2 separate regions of the Homo sapiens genome follow, and region 2 is linked to region 1. The links are contacts of gene promoters, found by promoter capture Hi-C in human tissues and cell types (Jung and others, 2019). All regions are on one chromosome and are shown on one strand. The core of a region is centred on a gene start or on the middle of the fragment in contact, and the rest is flanking DNA. Distances in the headings are between cores, read along the strand shown.

What was found. The method cuts DNA at HindIII sites, captures the fragments that hold promoters and counts their contacts. A contact is called where the count stands out against the background at its distance.
Region 2: a contact is called between a fragment that was not itself captured here and the fragment with the promoter of GHRH in region 1, in 1 of the 25 tissues and cell types used here (hippocampus).

The regions. Positions count from the first base shown.
Region 1 is chr20:37,258,505-37,264,289 of GRCh38, reverse strand. It overlaps GHRH (growth hormone releasing hormone), which reads left to right and starts at 2,476. Exons shown (of 5, transcript NM_021081.6): 1 at 2,476-2,547. The HindIII fragment of the contact is 8,848 bases long and covers 1-4,670 here.
Region 2 is chr20:37,295,372-37,301,156 of GRCh38, reverse strand. All of the region lies in intron 1 of MANBAL (mannosidase beta like), which reads right to left. Among named protein-coding and RNA genes, the nearest start is that of MANBAL, 8.6 kb to the right of the region's middle. The HindIII fragment of the contact is 4,244 bases long and covers 1,091-5,334 here.

The DNA.
Region 1 (5,785 bases), core at 1,227-3,726:
ACCACGCCCTGTTTTTATTTATTTTTTTTTTTGAGACAGAGTCTCACTCTGTTGTTCAAGCTGAAGTGCAGCGGCGCCATCTCGGCTCACACCAACCTCTGCCTCTGGGGCTTAAGCTATTCTTGTGCCTCAGCCTCCCCAGTAGCTGGGATTACAGGCACATGCCACTACACCCAGCTAATTTTTTTGTATTTTAGTAGAGACGGGGTTTCACCATGTTGCCCAGAGTGGTCACGAACTCCTGAGCTCAGGCAGTCCGCCTGCCTCGGCCTCCCAAAGTGCTGGGGTTACAGGCATGAGCCACCGCACCTGGCCACTATCAGCCCATTCTTAATCCTTGGGGATCTGGCCTGACCTGACCACTTCGTATCCTGGCCAGCAAGGTGACATACCACTCAAGCCTTGCTTCTATGAGAAACATCTCATATTTGCTAGATGCCAAGAACATGGCTCAGTGCAGGCTAAGAAGGAGAACCACAAAATAGTGTTGCTAAGGGGACTCTTGGAAATTACTGGCTTGTAATTGTGACCCATCGAGGTACCTCAGGGATAGGCAAGGGGGTCTCCACTTCCCCCTCTTCAACCAGAGTAGCCCCATATTAAAAACCTGTCTCTGTAGGTTTCCAAAGAAAGAGTTTTGCTACTTTTTAAAAAATGTTTGGGCTGGGTGTGGTGGCTCACACCTGTCATCCCAGTGCTTTGGGAGGCAGAAGCACGTGGATCACCTGAGGTCAGAAGTTTGAGACCAACCTGGCCAACATGGTGAAATCCCATCTCTACTAAAATACAAAACTTAGCCAGGCGTGGTGGTACGCACCTGTAATCCCAGCTACTCTGGAGGCTAAGGCAGGAGAATCATTTGAACCCGGGAGGTGGAGGTTGCAATGAGTCGAGATTATGCCACTGCACTCCAACCTGGGTGGCAAAGATAGGATCCCTCTCAAAAAAATAGTTTGAAAGTTGCTGTTCTATGTCAACTCTCAAGTTTCCAGGTAGAAACTGAGGCCCGGAGGGTAGAAGTTTTTTTTCTTTTTTTGAGACAGAGTCTCGCTCTGTCGCCCAGGCTGGAGTGCAGTGGCACGATCTCGGCTCACTGCAACCTCCACCTCCCGGGTTCAAGCAATTCTCCTGCCTCAGCCTCCTGAGTAGCTGGGATTACAGGTGCCCACTACCACACCCAGCTAATTTTTGTATTTTTAGTAGAGACGGGGTTTCACCATGTTGGTCAGGCTGGTCTCGAACCCCTGACCTCATGATCCACCCGCCTCAGCCTCCCAAAGTGCTGGGATTACAGGTGTGAGCCACTGCACCCAGCCAGGTAGAAGTAACTTCCTAAGGGTCACAGAGGTCATGATTGACAGGCTTGGGAGAGGCAGCAGGTCCCTAGACTCGAGGCTTGGAGCTCTTTCCACACCTCCACGACGGCCGCCTGGGAAACCAGAGCTTCTGCCTCCTGTGCTTTTATGTCATTCCTGAGGATTTCTTAGCTATAGGCTAGAGAAATCTGGAAACACAACAACTCTCCCAAGGTTTTCCATCTCTTCCCTCTCATTTCACACTTCTCTGAGGCAACTGCCAATGTCTGGCTGCCTTGACAGGTGACGACGGATGCCCCCAGGCTAGCTGTTGAAATCAGCCTGTGACCAAGCAGGTGTAAATCAAATAGTGCAGAATTCTGATAATTGGACGACAAGGGAGATAGGGAACAAATTCCCCACTAAGGAGAGAATAACGCTTATTCATAATGTTGTCTACCCAAAAGTGAAATAAAATTACACAGGGACAAAGCTAAATTATATGAACTTTTGAAAAGGCACATTTATCTTGGAGAATCAATAAACTCTTGGTGTTTCACTGTTATGAGTTCTCCAATTATTTTTAACACATATTTTTTCTTTTTTTAAAAAATATATATTTTGAGATAGAGTCGTGCTCTGTCACCCAGGCTGGAGTGCCATAGCGTGGTCTTGGCTCACTGCAACCTCCGCCTCCCAGGCTCAGGTGACACTCTTGCCTCAGCCACCTGAGTAGCTGGGACTATACCCATGTGCCAACATGCCCAGCTAATTTTTAATTTTTTTCTAGAGACAGGGTCTCATTATGTTGCCCAGGTTGGTCTCAAACTTCTGAGCTCAGGCAATCCACCCGCCTCAGCCTCCCAAAGTGCTAGGATGGCAGGTGTGAGCCACCGCGCCCAGCCGAGTTCTCCAATCACTATTATAGCAGTATATATTCTCTATATCCTCTTGGAATAATGTTACACCTTTGTACTATGTCCACTGTGCCAAAGATAAAAGGAGACTTTACCAGGAGTCTAAGTCTGCAAGGGGCCAAACCTCTTTCACCAACAGGGTTTGTCAGTGTGATATGATGCTAAAAACAGTCCTTTGGTTGACTTGTGGGTAATTGATTCTCTGACGCTGACAACGCTTAGGAAAATGAAGAGATAAATGATGGGAACGCCAGGCGGCTGCCAGAGCAAACACCCAGCCCAGGGCCCCTGGATTTGAGCAGTGCCTCGGAGCAGAGGGATATCTGCCGCATCAGGTGAGAGGGGTGGCCCTGGGGGGGCTAGGCTGGGTGGGGGTAAGAAAAGTTAACCTTCTCACCAACTTAGAAACACTGAGTCCAAGAGGCCCACCGCCATCCTCTTTGCCCATGGACTGGTGAGTACATTTGAGCCCCTCTCTGGATAAAATCACCCCTCAATAGGGGCTCTGGAATAGGCTTTTGATGGTGCTGTTTGGGGCTTGTCTTAACTTGGGCGCGTGGCGGACTGGCTCCAGGTGTCTGTCGCAGGTGGTGAGGTCTCAGTGCTCCTTCGAGGATGCGTGGGCAGGCTTCGGGGGCAAACGTGAGTTGGCTCGATTTTCCTGTCAGCGATGGGATTCTGCCATGGATCAGAGATGAGCCAAGTGGCTGTGCAAATCAATACTGCTCATTGATCACTCAGAACTGATTCAATGTAATTGCCGGGAAATTGATAACATTTTGCTTTCTTGCTCAATTGCAGCCACACTCTTTACTCCAGGTTTTAGACACAATTATCTGCCTTTGGAGTCCTCCGCTACCCCACGCCTGTCTCCTGATCCTTGCTTTAATGGTCCTGAAGTATTTGTGTCTTTCACCATAGACTGCCTCAAACCCCTTCTGGAAGGAGGTGGAGTGTCACTCTTTTGAATGACAGTTCAAGATGCTTCCTCATTAAAAACTTAGATTTCTTTTAACTTGGAATGCTGTCACTGAAACAGTTTATAAACCAGATCAGGAAGTCTATGCTTTGGGGTGCTCAAATTTCAAAGGGGGATATTCAAGGAAGGTTAAAGATGTTCTTTCCCTGGGTTTTCAAAAATGGCCTTGCGAATTTGGGTGCTTGAGACCTGACCTCTGTCAGCTGCAGGTGAATCTGCAGAATTCTCCTGGCATTCCTGGCATGAAAGCTGGCAAAAGGTGCCAACGGATGTAGATCAAGTGCCCGTTTATCCTGAATCCAGGCAATCTCAAGTACATCTAATCCCAGAATCAGTAAGCACTGCAGGAAGCTAACCGATGATCATAATGATAGATTATAAACTCTGGAGTGCCTTCAGTCATCAGGGTTGCCAGCAATGCTGTTGGGCTCGGCTACACTTCATTCAGTGAATTTTGACTCCTTAAGTTGTCATGTGGAATGTGTCTGTTGACAGCTATTTTATTTTATTCTTTGAGATGGGGTCTTGCTCTGACATTTAGGCTACTGTGCAGTGGCACTATCATGGATCACTGCAGCCTTAACCTCCCGGGCTCAAGCAATCCTCCCACATCAGCCTCCAGAGTAGCTGGGACTACAGGCATGCGCCACCATGCCTAGATAAGTTTTTTTTTGTTTTGTTTTGTGTGTTTTTTTTTTTGTAGAGATGGGGTCTCGCCATGTTGCTCAGGCTGGAGCTATTTTATCCTTAGTGACATAACCTCTATTCTTCTTATCTTACCCTACACTGGATAATTCTTGTTTCCCATTTTCATCCAGTGGGATCTGCAAACCCATGGATTCGGTTCTCATAGCTCAGAGGTTGCTGTGGGGTCTTGACCTATGCCTGGGGCACAGGATTTGTGGCAAATGTTGAGCCTCTTGGTTAACTTGTGCAGTTGCTGAGCCTTATCTTGAATGAGCGGGGTATTGTGTTTACTATGACTTGCCCTCCCCACCAAAGTCTGCCCTCCTATGAGGTTGTTTCAACTCCCTGAAACTACTGGGTGTGCATAGGGAGGGGCCAATCAAGCAGGTGTTCCTGTTTGTCCCTGTTCTTTCTTCCCCAGAGGCCCAACAACAAAGAGCAAGAAGCTTTCCTTTTTTTCAGACCCTTTCCCACGTGCAGGTGATGGAGGCTGAGGATCCCTGTGAATGGGGAATACTGTGAATAGAGCATTGTACCTGGGAGGCTGCTGCATGGAGCGGAAGGAAGTCTGCCGGCCTGGGAATGAGGAGGCCCACTCTGAAGTGCCCACTCCAAAACTAATTTGATGGAGGATCATGGAAAATGTCCTTGTCCTCTCTAGGCTCTTTTCCTTGGCTGTAAGAGGAGCATGGGGATGCCTGCTCCAGAGGGAGAGTGCAAGGATGGGTTGTGGAGCCTGATAGGGCACAGGGGCTGGGAATCACTTGTGCCAGCCCTTGGGAGAAGGGGCAGGCAGAGGGAGAGCTTAAGCCAAGAGAAGGGGTTTGAGCTTTATTCTGGAAGGAGTGGGGAGCCAAGGGCTTCTGAGCAGGGGAGGGAGGTGATTGGGGACCTAGATCTGCCTGAATCTTTAAAAGATCAGCAGCAAAGAAGGCAAGAAAGCCAGGCTGCAGCTGGGAGACAGAAAAGGCAGTGGTTTCTGTCAAGGGGCCCTGCTTGCATCCAGAGATCTCTCGGCTTAGGAAATTCCACTTCTGGAGAGGCAGCCTGGACCAGGTGGGGAGAAGGGGGACCAGACGTGGTATGGTGCGATGAGGAGGACGGAAGCCTGCCGAGCCTTGGTCTGAGGAACAAAAGCTTAAGTCAGACATGCGGAACATATCTAAAGGACCAGTCGTGTGGCTGTAGGTGCAGAGGCTCCAGCCCAGCAGGCGGATGTTACACAGCCAGCCCTCGGGGTAGATCCCGTGTTCTCATCTTTTCTCTAGCCCCAGTCCTTACCGGAACAGTAGAGGCTTAACAAACATTTGCAGGAGAAGGAGATTTGGGCTTGACATGGTGAGACAAACTTCCTAACAATAAGAACTGCCTGGGCCTGGCATTGTGGCTCATGCCTATAAGCTCAACTCTTTGGGAGGCTGAGGCGGGGGGATCACTTAAGCCCGGGGGTTTGAAACCAGCCTCGGCAATATAGTGAGACTTTATCTTTACAAAAAATTTCAAAATTAGCTGGGCATGATGGCACATGCCTGCTGTCCCAGCTACTCAGGAGGCTGAGGCAGGAGGATTGCTTGAGCCCAGGAGTTTGAGGCTGTAGTGAGCTATGATTGCACCACTGCACCTCAGCCTGGGCCACAGAGTGAGACCCGCTCTCAAAATAAATAAATAAAGAACCATCTGGAAATAAGCTCCCGGGCCTGGGGGTAGTGAGATCCCTGTCATTCGCTGGCAGCAAGTGCTCACTCGAGCAGGAAGTGGAGGACAGCCAGTGTGCGTGTTGTGGGGATGCTCATGTCATGGAGGGAGGGGCTGACCACTGAGGCCTGGGCTGCTGCTCCCTCCAGCTCTGCAGGTACAGGGTCTCAGGCTGCAGTAAGCAGACCCCCTGAGTGCTGCCTGGGGGCCCA
Region 2 (5,785 bases), core at 1,963-4,462, 36 kb before region 1:
TTTATTTATTTATTTATTTATGAGATGGAGTCTCACTCTGTCGCCCAGGCTGGAGTGCAATGGCATGATCACTGCAACTTCGGCCTCCTGGGTTCAAGTGATTCTCTTGCCTTGGCCTCCCGAGTAGCTGGGATTACAGGTGTGGGCCAACACACCTGGATGATTTTTGTATTTTTAGTAGAGACAGGGTTTCACCACGTTGGCCACGCTGGTCTTGAACTCCTGACCTCAGGTGATCTGCCCGCCTCAGCCTCCCAAAGTGCTGGGATTGCAGGTGTGAGCCACCTCACCCAGCCTGTAACTGACTTTTAACTTGAACACACACACACACACCCAAGAATATATACAGGAATTGTGAAATGTTAACAACTCTTGAATCTAAGTTGGGAACATATGGTCAGTCAATGAACCATTCTTTCAACTTTTCTGTGTATCTGATGTTTTCCAAACATAAAGTTGAGAAAAATAAATAAATGCAAAGGGAAGCACTTCAACAAAAATCTCAAATCAACATACATTTACTAAAGGCTGCTACGTTTCAGGTTTTGTTGTTTATTTATTCATGTAGTCATCCATTCAACAAATATTTCTTGAATACCAAGCACTGAAGAATGAGCAAAACAGACAAACCCCTGCTTTCTTGGAGCCTCTACATGCTCAGGATGGAAGCAGACAATGAACACGTCGAGATGTGATATGCCAGGTAGTGATAAGCATTTTGGAAAAAACTTAAGGGCATCATTTTATTTTGTGATGAGAAGGCTCTCTCTGAAGAACAGAGACGGGAATGGAGTGGAAGAGATAAGAAGTGAGAGAGGGAGCCATTTGTGTATCTGAGGGAAACACGTTCCAGGCAGGGAAAAAAGCAAGTGTGGAGGCCCCAGGGTGGGGAAATGAGGCCAGTACAGGCAGAGAAGTGATCAGGAGGGAGGGTGGAAGGAGGTATGATCAGAGAGGAGTGGGGGCGGACCCTGATACCTCCAATTTGATTGAGTAAAATGTAAAGCCACTGAAGGGTTTTGAGCAGAAAAGTGACATGATCTGACTTCCATTTTTAAATGGAGGAGGGACAACAAGGGGAGAGGCAAAGTGGACACAGGGAGAGCCAGGAGGAGGCCCCTGCCAATAAGCCAGACAAGAGCTGCTGATGGCGTGAATGACAGGGGCAGTGGTGGCCAGTGGTGCAAGGTCCAGCCTCAGCCCAGCTCTCCAGCCTCTCCTCTCAGCAGGGCCCCCACTCCTAATATCCTAGTCAAGCTGAAAGAACTGCTGTGGTTCTCCAAGAGCACTGGGCTCTTTCAAAATCCTGGGCCTCTGCCCAAGCTGCATACTCTGCAAAGAATGTCCTTTCCCACTGTGACTGCTTGACAAAGCCCCCACTCTGCCTCTAAGGCTGAGCTCAAGTGTCATCTCCCCAACATGCCTCTCCTGTCACCCTCCTCTTCCCCTGGCATGACTGAACTGCTCCCCCTTTACCACAGCACCCATCAGTGGCTTTCTTCTGCCCATCCCAATGATAAAGGGGCAAATTTACTTTGGAACCAGGCCCACTTGAATCTAAAACCCTTTGTGTTTCCAGAGATCTGTGCCACAATGCAATATTTTGCTAAGTCTGAGCTATCCAATATGGTGGCCATGAGCCACACATGACTATTAAGACTTGAAACGCAGCTAGTTTGAATTGAGATGCTAATTACACACCCATTTTCAAAGACCTAGTATGAAAATAAGAATGTAATCTATCTCATTCATAATGTTTTCATATTGATTACATGCTGAAACGATTGCAGTGGCTCACGCCTATAATCTCAGCACTTTGGGAGGCCACGGTGGGCAGATCACTTGAGCTCAGGAGTTTGAGACCAGCCTGGACAACACAGCGAGACCCCATCTCTACAAAAAAAATAATAAATTAGGCAGGAGTGGTGGCTCACTCCTGTATTCCCAGCTACTCGAGAGGCTGAGGTGGGAGGATCACTTGAGCCCAGGAGCTTAAGGCAGTGAGCCACGATCACGCCACTGCACTCCAGCCTGGGTGACAGAGCGAGACCCTGCCCCCACCCGACCCTGCCCCCACCCCACCCTGCCACCAAAAAATACACGTAAAAAATAATTGGCTGGGCATGGTGGGTTACGCCCAAAGTGTAAGCCCAACACTTTGACAGGCCAAGGCAGAAGCATCACTTGAACCCAGGAGTTTGAAACCAGCCTGGGCAACAGAGTGGGACCCTGTTGCTATAAAAAATTTAAAAATTAGCCGGACATGGTGGTACACACCTGTAGTCCCAGCTACTCAGAAGGCTGAGGCAGGAGAATTGCTCCAGCTGGGAGGTCTAGGCTGCAGTGAGCCAATGAGTCGTGATTGCGCCACCCTGAGTGACGGGGTGAGAGATCCTGTTTAAAAAAAAAAAAAAATTGAATTGAAAGCAAGGACTCAAGATACTAATGTTCATAGCAGCATTATTCACAATAGCCAAAAGATGGAAACAACTAAGAGTCCATAAACAGATGAATGGATAAGCAAAACGTAGTATATACATACAATGGAGTATTACTCAGCCATAAAGGAAATGAAATTCTGATACATGCTACAACATGAATGAACCTTGAAAACATTATGAGCTTTGAATAAATATATATGAAATAAGCTAGACACAAAAGGACAAATATTGTATGAGTCCCCTTATATGAGGTACCTGGAATAGGCAAATTCAGAGACAGAAAGTAGAATTGAGGTTACCAAGGGCTGGAGGGAAGGGAAATGGGGAGATATTGTTTACTGGGTACAGAGTTTCAGTTTGCAAAGATGAAAAAGTTCTAGAAATAGACAGTGATGACGGTTATACAACACTGCAAATACCACTGAATTGTAAACTTAACAATGGTTAAAATGGTAAATTTGTTACATATATTTTGTCACAATTTTTTAAAAATCTGTTTCTTTTTACCCATTTATTTATTTATTTATTTAGAGACAGGGTCTCACTCTGTCACCCAGGCTGGAGTACAATGGCACAAACATAACTCACTGTAGCCTCAAACTCTTATGCTCAAGTGATCCTCCTGCCTCAGCCTCCCAAAGTGTTGAGATTACAGGCATCATCCCTTTTTGCTTTTTAAATGTGGCTACTGGAAAATGTAAAATTATACATAGTCTGTATTATATTTCTGTGGGGAAGCCCTGGGGTAGAGACAATCCTAAAGACCTGCCTCACAGGGCGCAGTGGCTCACGCCTGTAATCCCAGCACTTTGGGAGGCTGAGGTGGGCAGATCACCTGAGGTCAGGAGTTTGAGACCAGCCTGACCAACATGGAGAAACCCCGTCTCTAATAAAAATACAAAAAAATTAGCCGGACATGGTGGCAGGTGCCTGTAATCCCAGCTACTTGGGAGGCTGAGGCAAGAGAATCGCTTGAACTCGGGAGACGGAGGTTGCAGTGGGCCGAGATCACGCCACTGCACTCCAGCCTGGGCAACAAGAGTGAAACTCCATCTCAAAAAAAAAAAAAGGCCTGCCGCCACCTTGGCTCTGCTGCTTCACTGCTTTGCACCATGTTTCCAACATGAAGTAACCGAAGAATAATAAAAACAACCTTCGTAAGTAAACAGAGCCGGACTTACACACGAGTATTGCTTCCCTTTCAGCCTGGTCACTTCAGAAGGTCATGTGCCTGGGGCAACAGGATGGCCACTTTTCACATCAGCTCTGTCTACCATGGGAATGGCCTTCAAAGCTTGAGGCTCTTTTTCTTCCCAGCCAGAATCCTCAGAGCTGGCAGATCTTCATCCTCCCAGGAAGGATTTGACTTCTGGAAAGAGCCCAACATCATCTGGTTCCAAGTGCAGTGAATCAGGTGGCACTGAGCTCAGGAATACCATTTTTGGTCAAATACAAGGTATGATGCTCAGACTCCAAGCAGATTACTTGGGGTGGCTCATAAACTGGCCCTGAAGTGAATTCCAAGGCGGCTGCAAGAACAGCTTCACTGGAAGAAATGTAACAGCCTCTACCAGCACCACCACCATGTGAATACCAAAGCTTAAGAACGCGTCCTCATTTCTCCGCAGTTGCACCTCATAAAGTGTGCATTTTTTAAAACGCCCTTGGCCCCAAGCTTTTTGCTTAAGGCTGTAACAAGCTTTATGAGCTTATAAATACTCAGATTTACTAGTGTTACTACTAACAGCAACATTGTGATAAGAAATATTTGGAGTGGTACAATAGAAAGATAGGGCAAGAGTTGGGAAGCAGAGGACAAAAGCCCCTGCTCTATCTGCAAGTAGCTACACTTTGGGCTAATAATCTCTTGACCTCTGGAGACGGGATGTTCTCATGAGCCAAGCAACAATGATACCTATAATACATTTAGGCCTTTTTTTAAAAAATGGCAATTAGACAAAATATAACAAGAGCCATAAAAGTGATTATATCCTTTGACTGAATAACTTACTTCCTAGAATTTATAGTAAGGAAACAATTCAAAAGAAGAAAAAGCCTTCAGGTACAAAAAAGTTCATGGCAGCACTATTCATAATACTGAAAAACAGGAAGCAACCCAGGCGTCCAACAATCAGGAAGCAGTTAACCCAGTGATGGTACATCATGGCATAATCCCTCTTCACTAACCCGGCAAATATAAACATTGTGTATCAGGTCAGTGGAAAGTCTTTGCAAAGTAACAGTAATTGAAAAAAATAAGCAATTGTATAAACACTATGATTGGAACCATCTATAAGCTGATTTCATGGGCTAAAGATCAAAAGATGCTACAGAAACATAAATAGTTGCTGTTAAGGTGAATAAGTCATGAGTTTTAATTTTTTGGAATGTTATGAAACAATAAAGTATCTAAGAAAAATCTATGCCCTACCTACTTCCTTCACAAGACTTTTGTTAGGGTATAATGTCATACTGTCCAATAAAGCTTTCTGCAGTGATGGAAATGTTCTGTATTTGTGTTCTCCAAATGGTAGCCACCAGCCACATGTGGCTGTTGAAAACTTAAATGTTACAGAGAAACTGAATTTTTCATTTTATTTAACTAATTAACAATAAAAAGCCACATGTGGCCAAAGGTTCCCTACTGGACAGCACAGGTGTAACAGGAGGGTGGTTGTGAAAAGGTTCTGGAAACATAAACTGCTCTACACACACTGTGCGCCGTACGGCTCTCATCTAGTTCTCTCTGCACCTCTGTGCTTTACTTCCCAGCCCTCCTGCCAGTATTTCTGGGCTTTCCTTTCCTGATGACCAAAGTCAAACAAGTCCTATTCATCCTGCAGATCTCAACTAGGAGACACCCCTTCGACTGGCTGTGACAGGTTTTGTTCCCTGGCCATTGTTCCAGCAGCAGCAGCAGTCGGCAAATGAACGGCCAGGTGTTGCGAACAGCACTTTACAGGCAGCAACTCGCATACTTCACCACCACACTGGGAGGTGGTATTACTAATGAGGATGAGGAAACCAAGGCTTGGAGAGGTTATATGACCTACCCAGGGATAACCTGGCTGATAAGTGGCAAAGGCAAGATTCAAAGGGGCTGGCTTCCCCAGAGTCAGGGCGCTTACCCAGTATGTCAATCGTTTTCAAACTGCAGGCTGTGGCCCATTAGTGAGCCAGGAAAACCATTTAGGGGGCTGCAACCAGCATTTTTTATTAGCCAGCACTTTATTTAAGTAGGTAAATAACAATAGAAAATATCAAAGAGTATCACATTAAGGGCCGGTATTATATCCTGAAGCTTTTTCAACATCCATCTACATCTGAGCATGCATGTGCTGGAT